Linked DNA regions of Homo sapiens: region 1 is linked to region 2. Evidence: promoter capture Hi-C in human tissues and cell types (Jung and others, 2019). All regions are on one chromosome and are shown on one strand. The core of a region is centred on a gene start or on the middle of the fragment in contact, and the rest is flanking DNA. Distances in the headings are between cores, read along the strand shown. Region 1 overlaps PTPRT (protein tyrosine phosphatase receptor type T). Region 2 holds the start of PTPRT (protein tyrosine phosphatase receptor type T).

The links. Contacts are between HindIII fragments. The study calls those that stand out against the background at their distance.
Region 1: a contact is called between a fragment that was not itself captured here and the fragment with the promoter of PTPRT in region 2, in 1 of the 25 tissues and cell types used here (dorsolateral prefrontal cortex).

The regions. Positions count from the first base shown.
Region 1 is chr20:42,774,425-42,778,744 of GRCh38, reverse strand. The region is part of intron 4 of PTPRT (protein tyrosine phosphatase receptor type T); the gene reads left to right. Among named protein-coding and RNA genes, the nearest start is that of PTPRT-AS1, 190 kb to the left of the region's middle. The HindIII fragment of the contact is 9,444 bases long and covers 1-4,320 here.
Region 2 is chr20:43,187,794-43,192,021 of GRCh38, reverse strand. PTPRT (protein tyrosine phosphatase receptor type T) reads left to right here and starts at 2,116. Exons shown (of 31, transcript NM_007050.6): 1 at 2,116-2,376. The coding sequence starts at 2,289. It overlaps PTPRT-DT (PTPRT divergent transcript), which reads right to left and starts at 1,957. Exons shown (of 3, transcript NR_186414.1): 1 at 1,772-1,957. The HindIII fragment of the contact is 13,787 bases long and covers 1-4,228 here.

The DNA.
Region 1 (4,320 bases), core at 1,770-4,269, 410 kb after region 2:
AAATATTCCCCACCCTGGACTCGTGGGAGTCACCATCAGCTGCTCATTTGAGAATGAGCCTAAGACTGGGCAACTGTGTTGGGAGATGTCTGTGCTACCTGTGGTCCATTTAATTGCATGCGCTCAATCTTGCACTACCTCCAGTTTCGAGGTAGTCTCTCTGAAACATGCCTTCTGTCTTCCTCATTCCCTGCCTACATCCCATCCACTCAGAGCGTGCTTGCCTCTGCCACATCTACCTGTGTTCCTGCTTCTTACTTTGTGCTGGATGCTTGGACTTTAGCTTTCTAGTAGGTGACAGCTGGCTTTTCCCAAGGGAAAATAGCATGAGTCTCTCTACCTGGATCCCAGAACTTTGTGCTCTAATGGGAATTTTCATCTCCGTCCTGATGCCCAACCTTGACACCTGTCTCTTACCCTAGCCGTAACTACCTTCAAGGCCAGAGTGGTAAAAGCTCTGCCTTACCTCCAAGCACTGACCATGGTTTGCTGTCACAAGCAAATGCATCCTTTTTCTTTGATAAATCTCCATGGGAGAGGGCTCTTTGGAGGGCACTGGAATGACTTTCCACCCCCCAAAGTCTCATGAATCCTTTTGAAATTCTCGTTTCACTGGGGTTGCTCCTGAAGTCAGGATTCTCCTGACAACCTCATCCTCCTCCTGCAGAGGGGTGTGGGTGGCATGGTCATGAAATTGCTGAAAGCCAGTTACCCAGCAAATGGACCATGGGATATAACTCAGGAAGGCGTGATCCTGGCTTTATGTCTGCATAATGTGCTCCTGTTGGGTTCAACCTCAGTGTTGAGGCAGCTTAAGCATAAACTTCCCAGAAAGCATGATGTGAAGACCCCATAGGAGTGGCTGGAATTGGAAAAAATTTCACTTAACTATATGGACAAATACTGGCAATGTATATAATGCCTGAGGTATATCCACAGCTCACGAATCATGTGGAGTTGAGTAGGGCCTAGCAAAGTCCCTTTCCTAAGGACCAGTGCTCAGTCCATACCTAGCCCAGGTTTTTATTCTTTCTTTCAGCAAGTAAATTATTGTACATCAGCTATGTGTTAAGAACTTTCCTAGGCACAGTGATACTTAAGTGACTAAGAAAGGTTCGGTCCTTGTACTCATGGTGTTTGATTAGCAGAAGAGCCAGTGGAAAGAAAGGCACTAAATCAGTAACTAATATTAAGTAACCAGAAATTTCAGATAGTGAAAATAATAGTGGATATAGTAAGTGTCGGTGTCTGGGATACGGGAGGGCTGCTTGGATATAGTGGTCAGAGGAGATATCTTTGAAAATGTGACCTGGGCTGGGACTCAAATCACAGGAGGGAGTTCACAGTCTAGTGATTTGGTGGAGGGGTGCTTCAGACAGAGGAGATAGTGGTTGCAGAGGCCCTGCACACGGAGTTGGCTTGATGCTGCCAGCATGTCCTGAGCATACAGGGCACAGGAGAAGGTGGTCAGGGCAAATGTTGGGCAGGAAAGCCTGGACTTTGGGCAGCATCGTGAGTAGTTTAAATGTTTGTCTAAGGGCAGGGAGGCTCTGCTGCAGGGAGTGCTGCTGGAGAAGGGTCACTTGGGCTGCTCTGTGTTGGAGGACCATAGAGAAGATGTCGGGAGACCTAGGAGGAAGAAAGTTCTGGAGCCATGCAAGAGGTGGTGGTGGCCCGCACCAGGGTGACTGAGAGACATCCATTCATCATCCAACAAGTATTTACTGAGCGTGAGCTCCATGTCAGGCACCATTCTGGGTTTGTGGGAGTGAGAAAGACAGATTGACTGTCTGTCTTCATGGACTTCTATTGAAGTGAAGGAGGCTGAAGCAAAACAAATAAAGTAATTATATGATTATATTATTATAATCTATATATTATATAATTGTACAAGCATTATATAGAAGTATATATTATATAAATGTGAGTTATAGTATATAAATAATTATATAATCATATAATTTACATTTATATATCATATATACATTTATAATTATATAAGCATATCATATATAATTATATGATATGCTTATATAATTATATGATATGATTATATAATTATATGCACAGACAGTGCGTTAGTTTGCTAAAGCTGCTATAACAAAACCCCTCAGACTGGATGGCTTAAGCAACTTAAATGTATTTTATTTTCTCACAGTTCTGGAGGCTGGCAGTTCAAGGTCAAGGTGTTGGCCACCGTAGTTTCTCCTGAGGCTCTTTCTTTGCTTGCAGGTGGCTGCCTTCTTGCTGAGGCTTCACATGGTCATTCCTCTGTACTTACAATCCTTTGGTGTCTCCCGGTGCATTCAAATGTCCTCCTCTGTTGAGAATACTGGTCAGATTGGATTGGATTAGGGCTTTCCCTAAAGGCCTCATTTTAATTTAATCATGTCTTTAAAGGCCCTGCTGCTAAAAATAGGAACATTTGAGATACTGGGGGTTGGGGTCATATATCAAAAGATAAATCTGGGGGAGACACAGTTCAGACCATGACAAATTATGAGCAGGACAATGAAGAAACTTAGAGCATAGAGGTGGATAGAGGTGCAGAGATTAGCGATCCATTTAGGAGGCAGAGCCAACTGGTCTCATTTGATAAATTGGATTAAGAGTCAGGCATCGGAGATAGTGCACTCACAGATTTGTAGCTTAAGCAAGGTGGTGAGAGCCTGGGAAGAACTGAGCAGGCTGCCTGGTGAGGGGCCCTGTGGGCCCCAGGGACTGCTTACAGGGATTACCTGTCATGCAAGTGGATAGTAGCTTCTGAACTCTCCTTTAGACTAAAGGTGCTTTTCCCCAGCCTCCAGTCTTAGAATTTATGACTTCACTCATAGATGGTTAAAAATTGAACTATATTGAAATATATGCGTTCAATTCAAAAAAGCCTGTGGACATAAAGTCTTTTTAATTATCCCTTTCTGTCCTCTAAAACATATTTTCTATTAACATATGGTCAGAGTTTATCAATAAGTGATTCCACTAAGTATTCCAAAAGTTCCAGGGAGCGAGTGACTGATTTGCAATTGTATCTTCAATTGATTGGCACTGAAATTAGAACTGTAGATAATTGCCTCCAAGCTCCCAAAACAGTAACCAAAAGACAGGCATAATACTCAAAGAAATTATTTTCTCTTACAAACGGAAGCCTCTCATCTATATTTTATAGCCCATTTAACATTTTTGTGTTATTCTAAAAGTATTCTATCCTTAGTTACCCTCTGTTGCTGTTTCTCAGTGTTAGCCATTAGCAGGGCCAAGGCAGTTATAACTGTGTAAGATAAATGTCAGTATGATTTTTCCACTCCGTTTCAAAGTTTCTAGCTTCTAAGTTGACTTTTCTTTCTCCCTCACAATCTTGTGGGGCCGTGTCCCCGAGCCCACAGAGCATCTGCAACATGTTTCTAATGTGCGTACTGGGCTTTCTCCACAATTGTGTGGCTTCCTACTGAGCACTGTCAGGTTTAAAGAGCAAGATAAAGGGCACAATAATATGTCTTCAGATGCTGCACTGACATCTGTAGGCGTCTAAATGTCACTAACGTCAAGGCATTTTTGCCCCAAATGCACAGCCAGTCTTCTGTTAAGCCCATTCAGTGGCATCCCATCTGGGGGGAATTGGGTCTCAGTGTGGAGTGAGTAGGAAATGCTTAGAACCACGAGCCGATGGCTGACCTGGGTACCAAGGTCAACCATGTTTGGCTGAAGATGAGTGATTTGAAGCTCGTGGAATATAAGTTCTCTCCCAGAGCAGCAGATGCTGGGGGAAGGTGACAGTTGAGAGAGCTTGCGGCTGATGAGCAGGCCGTTTGGGGGCATGGAAAAAGGAGGGTCAGAGAGGCCAGGAACGCAGGGAAGAGGACCATACAGGCCCCCCACATAAGCACAATCACCAGAGAGCACTGCCTGTCATGAGCCAAGGATGACCCAGAGCCCCAAGGAGCAGAGACAAGGGTCTTGAGCAAGAAGAGGGTAGCCTAGATCAGCTCCTGTGCTGGGAACTGTACTCGGGGTTGGCCTTCATGTGATGCCCACCGCGTACCGCATGGAGTGGTGGGGGCATCCCTGAATGTATGGGGCTGGATCGGGTGAGACTGGCTAGTGGAAATTGTTGCAGAGGACTTTCATAAGAGCTACATATCAGGGACCGCAGATTGATAGAGCCTGCATGTACACATGTTTTGTTAAGCCTGTACTGTGTTTTAATAACATGTTGAGTTTAGAGTGAGAGATTTCATATAAAGTCTGGATTTCTTACTGGCCTGGAGAAATCAGACGTTTGACACCCCTATACAAAGCATGCATGCCTGGCCTTCCTCTGCT
Region 2 (4,228 bases), core at 867-3,366:
CCCACTCCACCAGCTCAGTGACTACTGAATTTTTTTTTTCCCCTCGGGGCCACATGAACCCCATTCAGACCTGGGGGATTTGTCTGCAGTGATATCACATCCCTAAAGCAGGAGTGCAGGGGGGTGCCAAAGGGCGTTGCTCTGAGGATGCTGTGAGAACTGCTATTTTATAGTTTTCCAGAAAGCTTGAGAGAGGGGATGAATTGGCAGGAGCCCAAGAAAGTGGCAACAAGTTACAAGTGTGACACCAAGCTCTTTAGTGGCTTAGAAATCTCCCCACCCGGGTCATCCCCTGGGATCTGCCATGACTGGGGTCGCTTGTGGTGGTCTTGGGTCAGGCCTCTCCTCGCACACTTCCTAACTGCTCATCTGCCCAAGGCAGGGTTAGAATGAGTGAGTGATGGAGCAAACAGCTGGAAGCTCAGCTCTGAGCAGAAGGGATCTTTCCATTCCAATTGTCCCTAAGGGCTATAGCATTGTGGTATCCCCAGAGAACAGCACAGAGTAAGGCACACAATTAAATGCACCATAAATATTGGTAGAATTATTAATCTCCAAAGCAGCTTGTAAAAGGTTCAACTCCCAGGCCACCCCCGACAGGCCTGCCAAATTCCACTCTCCCCAGCAGGGGTCTGGGAAGCAGGACTTGGAGAAATCTTCCTGGTAGTTCTTTGACCAGGCAAGTGTGGGAGGCACTGGCTGGTCCAACAGGCTAGTCCAAGCACGTCAGCTTTTGAAAGTGGTCACGGTCATGGTGGTGGTGGTGGGAGTCGGGGTCCGGAGAGGGGTGGAAGAATTTGCCTGGGATTGTAAATTGGGCTTCCATGCCAGGGAACTGGGCCACTTTACCTAGTGGGGACTGGGAACTGGGGACTGACAGAGTGACGCCCTGTGTTCTCTGCCATGCCAACTTGGGTCCAGAGCCTGGGGCTCCCCACTTTTGGAAACCCTGCCATGCTTGATTTTCACAATTCACTTACAGTCTCCCCAGTCCAGTCCCTGGTACCCCAACAAGGATGGGGGTGGGGGGCTGTGCTGACACAGAAGAAGGAGGGCTTTGGCCAGGTAGCAAAGTGTTCACAAAGTGTGAATCCCTTAAGCATTTCTGGGTATCCCTGCCCCTGGCTTTTACATCTCAGACCCCCAGCCAAGACTCAGGTACCAGCTGCCTCCCAGGACAGCAGAGAGCCAGGCTGTGGGCCGTGGGCTGCCAGGGACAGCTCCAACCCTGATCTATGGTTTTAGGCTTTCAGCCCCAACCAGGTCTTTGTTAAGACCGAGAAGAAAAGGGAAAAAGCTACAAGGTTCTGTCTCCCTAGAAAAGGAAAGGGAAGGCTGCCAGGGAAAAATTGTAGGGGGTGGGGGGATGCCTCATGCCCCTTCTGCGCCCCCTTCCGCGTGGTGGTGGGGACAAGAGAGAGATGTGGGTGAAGAAGAAGGTGGGGTGGGCGGCTAATTGAGGGGGACGACGATTGTGGCGCGGTCAGCGATGCGCCCAGAAGAGTGTGAGTGGGTTGTGTGTGTGTGCGCGCGCGCGCTCTTAGATGAAATTCTCATCTCAGGGTGTGCCCGAGACCCTGGCCAGCAGCCGCCTGCCCCAGCTTTGGGCAGACGCCCCCACCCGCTTTCGCAATTCACCTGGCCCCTTATCTTGAGTTGCGAGGGCTGCTCCCTCCCTCCCTCTTCTCGCCACCGAACCCCCATTCACCTGTTCCCCACCCCGAGTTCAAACGGCTGCTGCAGCTTCCTCCTCCCCGCACCGCCCCCGTACCTGCGCCCCCACAGGGCAGACGATGCTTGGCTGCGCGGCGCGGCGCGGGGCGAAGAGGCGAGGACCCTGCCCGGCGTGTGGGTGCGGGGGTGATGTGTGGACGCGCGTGACTGTGCCAGCGGCCCGAGCTGGTCGGCCCCGGAGAGGGTGCGCGGGGGAGCCCGCGTGTGCCAGCCGCGGGCGTGTGCCAGGCGCGGGCGTGCGCGTGAGGGTGTGTGCACGGCCGAGGCGGAGCGCCCGGGCGGGCGGCGGCGGCGGCGGCGGCGGCAACGGCGGCGGCGTTAGGACTCGGGGGACACCGCCCCCCGCCCCCCGCGTCCCGCCCCCGCCCAGCCTCCCGCCTCAGTTCGCGCCGCGCCTCGGCTTGGAACGCAGGAGCGCCGGCTCCGGGAGCCCGAGCGGAGCCAGCCGCGCGCACAGCCAGCGGCCGCGCCGGCGATGCGGGGCCACCCCGCGCCCGCCCCAGTCCCGGCCCCGGCCCCCGCGGGAAGGGGCTGAGCTGCCCGCCGCCGCCCGGATGGCGAGCCTCGCCGCGCTCGCCCTCAGCCTGCTCCTGAGGCTGCAGCTGCCGCCACTGCCCGGCGCCCGGGCTCAGAGCGCCGCAGGTGAGTGCGCCCGCCCGGCTCCCCTGGGCTCCCCGCTCCCTCCTGGATGCGCGCGGGCCCCCAGCCGCGGGGCCCTCGGAGGAGAAAGTTGTGTGGGCTCGCGGGGGCGCGGGTCCCCATGGCCGGAACCCGGGTCTCAGCTTGCAGGCGCGGGAAGCAGTGTCCCCGCGCGCCCCGGCCAGCGAGCCCGGCCCCTCGCGTCCCTCGGCAGCCCGCGTTTGGCGAAGTTCCCCGCTTCAGTTTCCTGCCGGCCCCCCGGGCTGGAGTAACTTTCCGCGGTTGTTGCGAATATTTCCACTTGCTGCCTCCCACTTGTCGGAATCTGCCACTTGAGTGTTTGGGGCGGCGAGACGAGGAGCGGCACCGACGCCCGGGGTGGAGCGTTCTCTCCCGGGCAGCTCCTCGGGCAGCGCGCGCTTTTAGTGGGGAGGACAGGTCCCCAGCAGGCCGAGGCTGCCGGGGCGGCGGCTTTTCTTTTTTCCTCGGAGATACAGGAAGCTCTCCATTTGCTCTGAACACGCTGCTCCCCTAAGCAGGCCGCTGTAGGCACCCGAGGGGATGTTTGCGTTGATGACCGAGAGCAATACCTCCGCCCTACCCGCTGGCTTTTCTCCGAGGTAGCTGGGCGCCCGTGTTAAGGCCCTTGGAGGGGAGTGGATTTGACCCGTGAGCGCGTCCGCTCCTGAAAAGTTCGGGGAACTCATATTTGGGTTTGGCCACGGGAAGGCGGTGAGCAGAGGTAGTTCCCCAGAGTAGGGGGAGCGGGGGCGGGGGGGTGGTGCCTGCCGTGCTCCTAAAGGCACGTTGGCGGGTGCTGGAGGGCACCACAGTCCAGGGTCTTACACATCACCAAGCCCCACCGCAGGCAGCTTCCACCCCCGAGCCCCCCCCCCCCCAAGAGTAGCGGCGGAGGGAAGAGAAGGGAGTGCTGCAGGTGTACTTCCAAGTTCAAAATCACCTTAAAGTTTCTTAGCACCGATTGCTTTTGGTGTAACCACGCCGGCCTGAGGTGGCTGGGATTGCGGGGACAGGCTGAGATCAGCCCGTGGGACGCAGGAACAGGCTGGTTTCGGATCGCTAAGCAACAGCTGTGCCCATTTATTATTTCACCGAAAGAAGGAAAGGAAGAAAGAAAGAGCAAAAGAACGAACCTGTGGGGAGGTACAGCGTCTTTGCACAAGCTGCGTCTGAGGTTAAGGGCCGCTGGAAGGACATTCCGTTGGAAATGCTTTAGAGCCTTCCTTGCTTGGTACTAAAATGGAAGCGGAATAGGCGACTTCTGTGAAGGGACAGCCTGTTTCCCTGGCTGGGAAGTTGGGTGACGAAGACACTCCTTTTGAGGTGTGTGAAGCTGAAAGGTTGGATTAGCAAGTGAGAGAAGAGGGACAGCTACAGCACCATTCTAAAGATGGTGCACAATTCTTGTTTTCCTCATTTTGGGGGGTGTGTTAGGTGTGCTAGGGGAGGGAGGGGTACTAGGGAGGATGCCCGGGGCAGTCCTGGGGATCCAGGCATGATTCGTGACTCAGATTTTATATCCTCTAAGGCATGACCGGCCAACCACACATTAATACCACTCACGTTCCCGCGGCAGAAACAGGATCAAAAATATTCCATCACGGGTCTCGAATCGTTCTTGGGTAGCAAGCGGTAAAACCCGTACCGGCTCGGGAAGCTGTCCAGTGCTGAACGCCGCCCGTTCCGGATGCTCCCGCCAGGTGGCGCTCGCCCACAACTATTAAAATGCAAATCTGGTTGCTTTCATATCAGGAATAGAACTTCTTTTCAATTTTTAAATGAGTAATGTGTTTATTCAGCAGCCTTTTGTTAAAACATTTAGAGAAGTGTGAGG